Linked DNA regions of Homo sapiens: all the other regions are linked to region 1. Evidence: promoter capture Hi-C in 16 types of primary human blood cells and fetal thymus (Javierre and others, 2016). All regions are on one chromosome and are shown on one strand. Each heading gives the region's core, a stretch centred on a gene start or on the middle of the fragment in contact. The rest is flanking DNA. Distances are from core to core; before and after follow the strand shown. Region 1 holds the start of GDI1 (GDP dissociation inhibitor 1). Region 2 has its middle 4.1 kb from the start of AVPR2. Region 3 overlaps ARHGAP4 (Rho GTPase activating protein 4).

Region 1 (3,175 bases), core at 1-2,500:
CTGGCTAGTTGCCTCGCCTAAAATTGGGGTGATGGCTTCATCCGACCACACTCTCCATTGCAACCTTGCTGGGCAAAGGAGTCCCGTCCCCCTCACAAGGCGGAGAGTGAAATAACGGAGGCTTTGAGGGAGGCAGGGCATCCAGCAGACACAGGATGGCCTTCCAGTACCAACACGCCGAGAGGCATCTACCTACGCAGAGCCGCACAAAAAGGCGGATAAAACACAATAAGGCACAGAGAAGACCCAGCTGGACTGCAAAGGACACTCGAAAGGGAGGAAAAGAAAGGCTTAGCACAGTCCTTGAAATTGTAGGCCCCACCCTGGACTGCTCTTTCTTCAAATAGCAGGAGCCCCTGCCGCTGAGGAGGGGCATCTGGGCCTGGACCGAGGAAGAAGAGTCTCTGAGGGGAGTAGGCCAACGGGGTTTTCGGGGAAAGGGGGAAGATAAACACCCTCACCAGTCACTGTCACTAGCCCAAGGACAAAGGCTGCAGATGCTACCCAGCCTGAGGTCTCCATGGGCAACCGAGGTGGGGTTGCGGGAATGTGCTTACTGCCCCCACTGCTGTTCCTTCTGGAACATTCCCTGGATCCCCTGGCCCCAGAAGACGATGAGGAGGCGGGCTGAGGGCCCACTCTGGCGAGGCCCCCTGACCCCAGGTCCTTCTACTTCATCCCCACCGGGATTAGCGCAAGATGGGAACGGACGCTGAGAGGCAACGCTAGGCGGGCAATGGGTGCGGGCGACGGGTGGATGCCGTGATGGGTGGGGGCGATGGGTGGGCGGGGTCGTGGGCATCGGGCCGAGTGGGGGTGCGTTTTCCGGTCCAGCGGGCAGGGGTAGGGAAGATGGGAGGGCGCCGGGGGTCGGACCCGGGTAGCCCAGGAGGCGGCCAGGAAGGGGGCCTCTTCGGGGAGATGGGGTCATGGCAACGAGCAGAGGCGACGTCGCTGGGGGAGCAGCGGGGTGGGCACGGCGCCGGCTTTTCGGGGAGCGGAGCGCAGAAGATGGCAGTGACCAGAGGATGGGCCGGCGGCCGCATCATCGCGGGGGATGGCGAGGGCACGACGCAGGGCCAGGGGCGCCGGGGCCGCACTTACGGTGAGACCGGTCCCCAGCACGATCACATCGTATTCCTCGTCCATGGTCAGGCCTCGGTGCCAGCGCCCGCTCGGCTCCTCCTCCTCCTTCACCGCAGCAGTCGCCGCCGCCACCGCCGCCGCCGCCACCGCACTGGACCAAAGATGGCGGCGCGTCGGCCGTCGCCCGACCCCTCCGCCGCGTCAAAGAGTCCCGCCTCTTCCCGCGCCCCGCCGCAACCGGCAGGGGCCACCGCCTCCCCGGCTCGCCTCCCGGGAGGGCTGCCAGGGCCCGGGCCACAGCACCAGCGCGGCTCCGCGGGCGACGCTGCTCGCCGAGAGTCTAGAGAGGCGCGGGGCGGGGCGGGCGGGGCGGGCCGGCGGCCGGTGCTGCGGCCCAGGAAGAATCCGTGCGCGGGAGCCGCGCGCGCCCCGCCCCACCCGCCGCGCCCCGCCCCGCCCCGCCCCGCGCGCGCCCGCCCACCTCCCCACCCCCGCCCACCCCCCCGGGAGTCTCGGCGCGGCCCCGCGGCCGGGCGCGCGCCGCTGCGGCAGCCTGGGGCGGCCCCCTCACGACGCGAAGGCTGCCATTGTCACGACGGCCTCCTGAGACGCCGAAGCGCACCGGGACTCGGCCCGACCGCCCCTCCCTACCCTGAGCGGTTAGGGCCCAGCTTGCTAAAGCCCCTCCCGGTCTCCGCGGATGCCTCTTCGCCTCCCCCTCGCCAGGCTCCATCCTCCCGCATCCCTCCGGCGAGCACGCGCCTAAAGCCCAGCGCAGAAATGAGCGACAAGAGGCCCAACGCATGGCGACCCGCGTTTATTTTATTAGGAAGGAAACAACCAAGCACCCCATGCTCCTGCCCGGCACTCCCGGTGGGAACATGCCAAACAGCCGGCGATCGCACCCAGCCCACCTGTCGTGGAGGTCCCTTCCTTCTCAGGCCACAGAAATAAACCCGTGTACTTCTTATTGTTAGCACAACATCACCAGAAAACGATAACGACAGCCAAGCAGGACAGACAGTTAAGTAGTACTTCCACACTCCCAAACTCAGGGAGCCCTATAACCTTAAGGAGGGAGCATTTGCTACACAAAAGCACTATCCACAGCCAGGGATGATGTAGCCACAAGAATAAATAAGGAGAAAGGAGACCCTAGAATTCATGTCCCTTACGCCTCACAGCGACGAACCCTGGGAAGCTGGTTGGTCTAGCATCTACGCAGAATATGTACACCTTGTTGGGAGAGATGGGGGCAGCCCAAGAAAGCTCCTCAGCGGGCTGAAGAGGGAGCAAGATGGGCTGAGGGGAGCTTGCAGTTCATGCTGCAGTAGGAAGAGGGAAGCTCTTCAGTCCAGTGCGCTGCAGGGTGGGAAAGCAACAACACGGACACCGTCCCACCCTCAACCCCCCCACTGGCACAGGGTCACACAATCTGGGTCAAAGAAATAGTGGGGCCCTTGTGGTCATCAAAGCGATCCATGGTCTTGAGGCTGAGGATCATGTGCAGGCCATAGGTGAAGATGAAGAGCATGAACAGGGAGGTGAGCAGCCCCATCCAGATGCCGGGGGAGAAGAAGCTGGCACAGTCGCTGGCGTAGGAGAACTGCTCCCCCATTACGTTGAAAGCCTGGATCTGGCAGACACACAGACACGGGTCAGAAAGGACCGTTGGGAGGCCCAGCAAGAACTGGGACAGGGGCAGCGCAGGGACAGGACTCTCAACTACATGCCCAAGCCCAAGCCTCTCTTCGTCTCTCAACCACTAGCCTGGGCTCCCCCACCTGAAGCTGGGCCACGCCCGCTCCATACCTGGAAGTCCTGAAGCATCATCTGCCAGGGAGAGGGCTGCGTGCGGGCCACGAGGAGACTACCCTTCTTGCTCAGGCTGCTGACATACTCGCAGTGGAAGGAGTAGATGCTGGGCCCTGTGACCTGGGAAGCATTGAAGTAGGCGACGGAGCCATTGCTGTGGACTTCGAGGCGCTCCATGGTAAACCAGTGCCGGGCAGACACTGGGTAGAGGCGGTTGGCCAGAATGAACCTGGGGAAGGTGGCAGGGATGTCAGGTGAGCTGGGGAGGCTGGGG
Region 2 (3,806 bases), core at 701-3,200, 540 kb after region 1:
ACCTGGGGGTGTGCCAGGCCCCCACTCCTGCCAGCGCAGCCCCTGTGTGCACACCTCCCACTGGTCCCTCTAAGACTTGCAGAAAGGGCTCTGTGAGTGCCAAGGTGTGGCTCCTGATCTTCCAGCCTAGTGTCTGGGCAGAAGAGGACAGGAGGCAGATTGGGGGGACACTGTTTGTCCCTCTCTATCTACCGGTTCCCCATGATCAGAACCTTCCATTCACCAAACTGCAAGTGCCGCTGGCCTAGCACTGTGGCTGCAGAGATGGAAGGACCTGGGCTCTGCCCCAGGAGCACATGGGCTTCTGCAGAGAAGAGTGGAGGCAGGGAGGCTGGTGGAAGCTGTGCCTGTCACCCAGGAGAGAAATGGTGCGACCCACTTAACACTGGGCAGCGGGGCTAGAGGGAGCAGGCAGGTGGAAAAGGCATTTAAAGGGCCCTGAAGGATTTGTAAGGGGTGGAAGACAAAGAGGAGGCAGCCAAGGACGAGGAGAAAGAGGCCCCCGATTGTGTGGGAGGGGTGCATGTGCAGATGGTGGAGCCTGTGGGCAGTGGGAAGGACGGAGCCAAGTGCCTGTCAACAGGAACGGCCCTCACAGGGACTGTGACCCGAAGGAGAATACCTAGAGCCCAGGAGATAGGGAGGAACAACGGGTTGGAGGATGGGATTGAAGGGGACAAAAACAAATTTAATAAAAACTCAAGTGTACTTGTGTGAATGTGAGGGTGTGTGTGAGGGTGTGCGTGTGTGAGGGTGTGAGAGTGTGTGAGGGTGTGTGTGAGAGTGTGCGTATGTGAGGGTGGGCGTGTGTGTGGGGTGTGTGTGGTGTGTGGTGTGTGAGGGTGTGCATGTGAGGGTGTGTGGTGTGTGTGTGGCGTGGGTGGTTGTGTGTGAGGGTGTGTGGTGTGTGTGTGTGTGGCGTTGGGGGGGTTGTGTGTGAGGGTGTGCGCGTGTGTGAGGGTGTGTGCGTGTGTGAGGGTGTGTGCGTGTGTGAGGGTGTGTGCGTGTGCCAATGATGACAGGAAGACAGCCTGCGGATGATCATCTAATTGTGTCCATTCACCTAAGTGAATAATAACTGGGAAAGCTGGACAGAGCCTGTTTATAGCTGCGGAAAGGCAGCCCATGGAACTGGATAGATTAAGAGCCTCGCGGAGTGGAAGGGAGGGCCAGGGTCTCCAGCAGGTGCTGGGGTGAGGGGCGGGGGGTAGAAGGAGGGTGAGCGTTGAGGGCTTGAGGGCCGTACCCATAGATGGCCTCCAGGTCATCATGTGAGAGTCAGGCAGGAGGCGGCTCCCTGGCAAAACTGCAGAGATTTTTTTTTTTTTTCTTTTTTAAAGGCAGTGGCCCCTCCCGCTTTCCTCCCCAGAGGCGGCCGACTGCAGTTGCTGTTAGTGGGCTGTTTGGGTAACTGCCTCGGGGTTTCCCAGTCTGACTTCCTCTTGCTCTCTCTGCCTGCACGTTCCTCCCCCAGATTATTGCAGCAGCTGCTCCGGGTGTCTTCAGTGCTCATGCACTCACCACCCTGGAATGGCCCTCCGCAGGCAATGATTTCTCTCCTCCAGAATGACTTTTTTTTTTTTCGGCTTTATTGAGGTATGATTAGCATACAGTAAAATTCATTAATTGTAATTGTACTGTTCAGTAAGATTTGACAAATGTATACAGTCGTGTAACCACAACCACAATCATGACATAGAATAAATATTTTCGACATTCCAGAAAGTTCCCTCGTGGCCTTTTGCAGTCAAGCTTCTTCCCCTACCTGAAAGCCTAGCAACCACTGATCTATCACTATAGATTTTCCTTTTCTAGAATTTTATATAAATAGAATCATAGAGTATGTAGTATTTTCAAAAATTAGCCGGGCGTGGTGGCGCAAGCCTGTAATCCCAGCTACTCAGAGGCTGAGGCTGGAGAATCGCTTGAACCCGGGAGGCGGAGGTTTCAGTGAGCCGAGATCTTGCCATTGCACTCCAGCCTGGGTGACACAGCAAGACTCCGTCTCAAAAAAAAATAATAATAAAAATAAATAAATAAATAAAAGAGTACATAGTATTTTGTGTAACTTCTTTTTTTTTTTTATATTTTTTTTGGTGGGGAGGAGGCATAGTCTCTCACTCTGTCACCCGGTATACTGAAAGCTTTTATCACAAGTGAGTATTGAATTTTTTTCTTTTTTTTCTTTTTTTTTTTGAGTCGGAGTTTCACTCTTGTTGCCCAGGCTGCAGTGCAATGGCGAGATCTTGGCTCACTGCAACCTTCGCCTCCCAGGTTCAAGAGATTCTCTTGCCTCAGCCTCCCAAGTAGCTGGGATTACAGGCAAGCGCCACCATGCCCAGCTAATTTTGTACTTTTAGTAGAGACGGGGTTTCTTCATGTTGGTCAGGCTGGTCTCGAATTCCCGACCTCAGGTGATCCACCTGCCTCGGCCTCCCAAAGTGCTGGGATTACAGGCATGAGCCACCACACCCGGCCAATTTTTGTGTTTTTAGTAGAGACAGGGTTTCATCATGTTAACCAGGATGGTCTCGATCTCTTGACCTCTGATCCACCCACCTTGGCCTCCCAAAGTGCTGGGATGACAGGTGTGAGCCACTGTGCCTGGCTGTTGTTTACCATTTTTACATCTGTATTAATGAGAGATGCTGGTCTACGTTTTCCCTTTCTGTAATATCTTTGGTTTGGGGATGAGTATAATGCTGACTTTATAAAACGAGTTGGGAAGTGTTCTCTCTTTTTCTGTTTTCTGGAAGAGTTAGTATAGAATTGGTATTATTTACACAAACCTGGAGTTTTCTTTGTGAGAATTTTTTCAGTTATAAATTCAACTCTTCTGACAGATACAGGGCTAATCAGGTTATCTATTTTTTCCTAAATGAGCGTTGACCATTTGTATCTTTCAAGGAATTTGTCCATTTCATCTAAGTTGTTGGATGTATTGGAATAAGTTTTTCACAACATCCTCTTATCACTTTTTTATGTTTGTAGGATCTGTAATAATGCCCCCTCTCTCTTATTCTCCATATTGGTAATTTGTATCTTCTCTCCATTTTTTTTTTCTGATCAGTCTGGCTAGAGGCTTATCAATTTCATTGATCTTTTTGTTTTGTTTTGTTTTGAAACGAAGTTTTGCTCTTGTTGCCCAGGCTGGAGTGCAGTGGTGTGATCTTGGCTCACTGCAACTTCTGCCTCCCAGATTCAAGCAATTCTTCTGCCTCAGCCTCCTGAGTAGCTGGGATTACAGGTGCACACCACCACGCCCAGCTAATTTTTGTATTTTTTAGTAGAGATGGGGTTTCACCATGTTGGTCAGGATCATCTCGATCTCTTGACCTCATGATCTGCCTGCCTCGGCCTCCCAAAGTGCTGGGATTACAGGTGTGAGCCACCGTGACCGGCTCTAGTTTCTTAAAGTAGAAATTTAAATAATTATTTTGGGACCTTTCTGCTTTTCTAATATAAGTAGTTCCTTTTCCTCTAATCAGTTGTTTTGTTGAATTCCCAAATTTTCATATTTTATTTGCATTTCTATTCAGTGAAAGATATGTTCTACCAATAATTTTACTTGTGGTTTCTTCTTTGGTTCTTGGGTTATTTGGAAGTAGATATTTTTTCATTTCAAAATATTTAGAAAATTCCTAGATGTCTTTTTGTTGTTGATTTCTAATTCAACATCATTTTGGTCAGAAATCGTACTTTGTATGATTTTGACCCTTTGTAATTTATTGAGGCTTGCTCGATTGCCCAGAAGTTGTCTGTGTTGGTTGGGGTTCCATCTGCACTTGAGAAGAATATGTGTTCTG
Region 3 (3,806 bases), core at 351-2,850, 520 kb after region 1:
GGTCTCAGAGCTCCAGACGGTGAGGAAAGGGCTGGGGAGGGGCCTGCCCCAATGGTCCAGGGAGAAATGCCACTCACAGTGGGGGAGGAACACCGCCAGACCATCACATCACCCCAAGCCAGGCTCAGGGAGAAGCACGCACCTAGGGGCAAAGGCCTCTCTCCCTAGGCACAGGGCGTTAGGCTAAGTGCTCACATGGGATCGCCCAGCTCTGAGGTCCAAGTTCCAGAGGGGCAGGGGTAGAGGGCTGGGGGCTGGCCCAGCCGTGGCCTTCACCAGCACCACCTTGCTTTGGGTCTCCCTGCAGGCCAAGAAGACGTACCAGGCATATCACATGGAGAGCGTGAATGCCGAGGCCAAGCTCCGGGAGGCCGAGCGGCAGGAGGAGAAGCGGGCAGGCCGGAGTGTCCCCACCACCACCGCTGGTGCCACTGAGGCAGGGCCCCTCCGCAAGAGCTCCCTCAAGAAGGGAGGGAGGCTGGTGGAGAAGGTGGGCCTGGAGGGCACCTCAGACGCAGGCCTATGGGCCATGGGCCCTAACTAGGACCTGCTGTGCTGAGGGGGAAGTCAGGGCTGGGTGCAGGGGAGGGCAGGAGTGGCAGGACAGTGCCATCAGGTTCCAGGGATTCCATACGGAAGGCTCCCAGGGCCTGAGAGAGTGGGGAAAACAGTTGCCTGGCCCTGGACAGCCCCATGCAGCCTCTCCATGCTCCCAGCGGGGCCCCTGCAGCTCTGCTGTTCTGCCAGCCATTCCGTAAGGTTTCAGAGGGGGGCAAGAAGACACTTAGGGTGGGTGATGGGGTGACACGCACGGAGAAAGGGCCTTCGAGGTGAGCCCAGTACAGAGAGTGGGGAGGCTGGGAAATGCCTGGATGGAGCCGCCAGGCTGTGCGTGGCTGACAGTCATGGTCTCTGGGACTCTGGGAGCAGAGGAGGGAGTCGAGCATCTCAGGTGTTCTTAGGGGAAATGACAGAGTTTGGCTGTGTTGGGGGAAGGTCTCCCTGGCTGCTGTGGTTAGCGTGCCAGCTTTAGCCAGGTGCGGTGACTCACGCCTGTAATCCTAGCATTTTGGGAGGCTGAGGTGGGTGGATCACGAAGTCAGGAGTTCAAGATCAGTGTGGCCAACATGGTGAAACCCCATCTCTACTAAAAATACAAAAATTAGCCGGGCATGATGGCGGGTGCCTGTCATCCCAGCTACTTGGGAGGCTGAGGCGGGAGAATCACTTGAACACAGCAGGCGGAGGTTGCAGTGATCTAAGATTGCACCACTGTACTCCAGCCTGGGCGACAGAGCGAGACTCTGTCTCAAAAAAAAAAAATAAAAAAAAAATAGAGTGCCAGTTTTAGAACCCAGGTGCCAGCAGGTTCTGTTTCATGGCTCTTGATGATCTATCCCTACCCTTTGGGGTACTCGTTCCCCCTCAGCTCTGGCCCCCGCAGAGGCCTGTGGCCGCTTCCAGCTGTGCACCTGTGTGCTGGCTCCAAGCTGGGTTTCTCGTGCACCCTCCATGGTGGGGTGCCATGTGCGCACCTTCCACTCATCAGGTATCTGTGAATAGTTCTGTGTCATCCCCCACTTCTGTGGGGAATGTTGTGGCTCGAACCAAGGCAAGTGGCGGGTGAACAGCCGGGGAATCAAGTCACCTCCTGGCACTGGGCTGAGCACACTGTGGACTGTGGCGTGGGGAAGGCAGCAGGACTTCTGGGCTTGACCAGTTCAGGTGTAGTTGTCCACAGTGGGAGGGGAGGCGATGGGCATTACATGAAAGGCTAGAGATAGGGGCTGGCCACGTGCGTGACCCTGGCACGCTTGCATTGTCTTGAGTAGCGGCAGGCCAAGTTCATGGAGCACAAACTCAAGTGCACAAAGGCGCGCAACGAGTACCTGCTTAGCCTGGCTAGTGTCAACGCTGCTGTCAGTAACTACTACCTGCATGACGTCTTGGACCTCATGGACGTGAGTCCTTGGTGGGCAGGTGGGAAAAGGTGCCTGGTGCCTCGGGGCTGGGAAGCTGTGGCTCCAGGACCTACCCAAGCATCTCCTTGTTTCCTCCTCAGTGCTGTGACACAGGGTTCCACCTGGCCCTGGGGCAGGTGCTCCGGAGCTACACGGCCGCTGAGAGCCGCACCCAAGCCTCCCAAGTGCAGGGCCTGGGCAGCCTGGAAGAAGCTGTGGAGGCCCTGGATCCTCCAGGGGACAAAGCCAAGGTTCTCGAGGTGCATGCTACCGTCTTCTGTCCCCCGCTGCGCTTTGACTACCACCCCCATGATGGGGATGAGGTGAGGGTCACCCCCTGCTGGGCTTGGCATTCTCTGGCCTTCACTGTAATGGTGGGCAGTGGAGTGGCATGACCCACACTTTGCTCAGGAATCCAAGTTCTCCATGGTCTCAGGCAGTGCGGCAGCTAGAGAAGTGTCCCACTTCCATTTGCAGCCTCACTCCAAGGGTGCACCCCCGCAATGGCCAAGGAGGGCAAGACACTAACTGTTCAAACCGTGCAGCAGGCAGCCGTGTAGCTGCCCATACATTGTTCTAGGCTGGTTTCTCTGTGTTTTTAAATTTCGTGACACAAACTTGGCAGTAAGATGGAATGGGGCTTCTTTATCCTTCTCCGTCGAGCTAGTTTTTCCTGCAGCAGTTTATCCTGATGGGCATTGTCAATGATCTGGGATTACATTGGGCCCCTTTCGGGCCGACTTGGAACTTTACGAAGAGTCCGGCATCACCAGGGCTTCCGATGGCGTCACAGCTGCTCCCTAACCCACCCCTCCCGTTCCCAGCTCCCACCCCCAGAAACAGCCACCCACCTCCCGGTGTCAAGCAGCCATTTTCCATTGGCCAATGATGACCCAGTGCCACCAGCATCTCTCACAGCCACCACACGCTTCCCTGCATCTTGTTCTCCCAGTGGGCTTATCCCAGAATTTTTGGCTAAATTAACATTCAATGTTTAAATCACCATGACAACAGGTACTGTTGGCAGCTGAGCCATGTACTGTATTAGGATCACATGTCCTTCCTTGGACAATTTTTCCTTTTCTTCTGGAATTTATAACTCTCTTGCCTCAGGAATGCTGCTTGCTAGAACATGCCCATTGCTAGGAGTTGATCGCTACCTCGTCCCAGCACTGTCCTCCACACCAGGCACCTGTGAGGTCAACCTTCTCCTCTGCGCCCTCCCCCAGAGCCTTCCAGTCTGGAGTGCTTCACTTCTGCCCAGTGCTCTGTTTCCGGATTCCACGGCAGCAGCTTTCTTAGTTTGATACCCTTATTTTGGTGACACCTTCACCAAGGGTTTCCTGACTTTGCACATCTGAAAATGTCTGTATTCTTTGTTTTGTTTTGTTGTGTTTTGTTTTTGAAACAGGGTCTCACTCTGTCCCCTCGGCTGGAGTGCAGGGGTGTGATGTGATCTCAGCTCACTGCAGATGCAACCTTCTGGTCCTCCCATCTCAGCTTCCCAAGTAGCTGGGACTACAGGCCTGCACTACAACGCCAGGCTAATTTTTCTATATTTTGTAGCAAGGGAGTTTCACCATGTTGCCCAGGCTGGTCTCAAACTCCTGGGCTCAAGCAATTGGCCTGCCTCGGCCTCCCAAAGTGCTGGGATTACAGGTGTGCCACTGTGCCCGGCCAACCCTTTATTCTTATTTCATGAATACAGTACTTCTTGAATCTTTCTGAAGCTTTTATTTTTTTTGAGATGGAGTTTCCCCCTTGTCGCCCAGGCTGGAGTGCAGTGGCACGATCTTGACCCACTGCAAACTTCGCCTCCTGGGTTCAAGTGATTCTCCTGCCTCA

What was found. Contacts are between HindIII fragments. The CHiCAGO score rates a contact against its expected background, and 5 or more counts as called.
Region 2: a fragment that was not itself captured here is called in contact with the fragment with the promoter of GDI1 in region 1 in 2 of 17 cell types (monocytes and non-activated CD4 T cells); the score reaches 5.9 in monocytes.
Region 3: a fragment that was not itself captured here is called in contact with the fragment with the promoter of GDI1 in region 1 in 1 of 17 cell types (monocytes); the score reaches 6.1 in monocytes.

Annotation. Positions count from the first base shown.
Region 1 is chrX:154,435,229-154,438,403 of GRCh38, reverse strand. GDI1 (GDP dissociation inhibitor 1) reads right to left here and starts at 1,250. Exons shown (of 11, transcript NM_001493.3): 1 at 1,105-1,250. The coding sequence starts at 1,149. It overlaps ATP6AP1 (ATPase H+ transporting accessory protein 1), which reads right to left. Exons shown (of 10, transcript NM_001183.6): 9 at 2,899-3,130; 10 at 1,888-2,722. The coding sequence ends at 2,513. RefSeq lists an enhancer at 1,218-1,718. The HindIII fragment of the contact is 14,364 bases long and covers 1-3,175 here.
Region 2 is chrX:153,898,627-153,902,432 of GRCh38, reverse strand. No RefSeq gene overlaps it. Among named protein-coding and RNA genes, the nearest start is that of AVPR2, 4.1 kb to the left of the region's middle. The HindIII fragment of the contact is 392 bases long and covers 1,755-2,146 here.
Region 3 is chrX:153,917,310-153,921,115 of GRCh38, reverse strand. It overlaps ARHGAP4 (Rho GTPase activating protein 4), which reads left to right. Exons shown (of 22, transcript NM_001666.5): 4 at 1-19; 5 at 308-490; 6 at 1,833-1,961; 7 at 2,063-2,284. Among named protein-coding and RNA genes, the nearest start is that of ARHGAP4, 7.1 kb to the left of the region's middle. RefSeq lists an enhancer at 1-175. The HindIII fragment of the contact is 4,186 bases long and covers 1-3,693 here.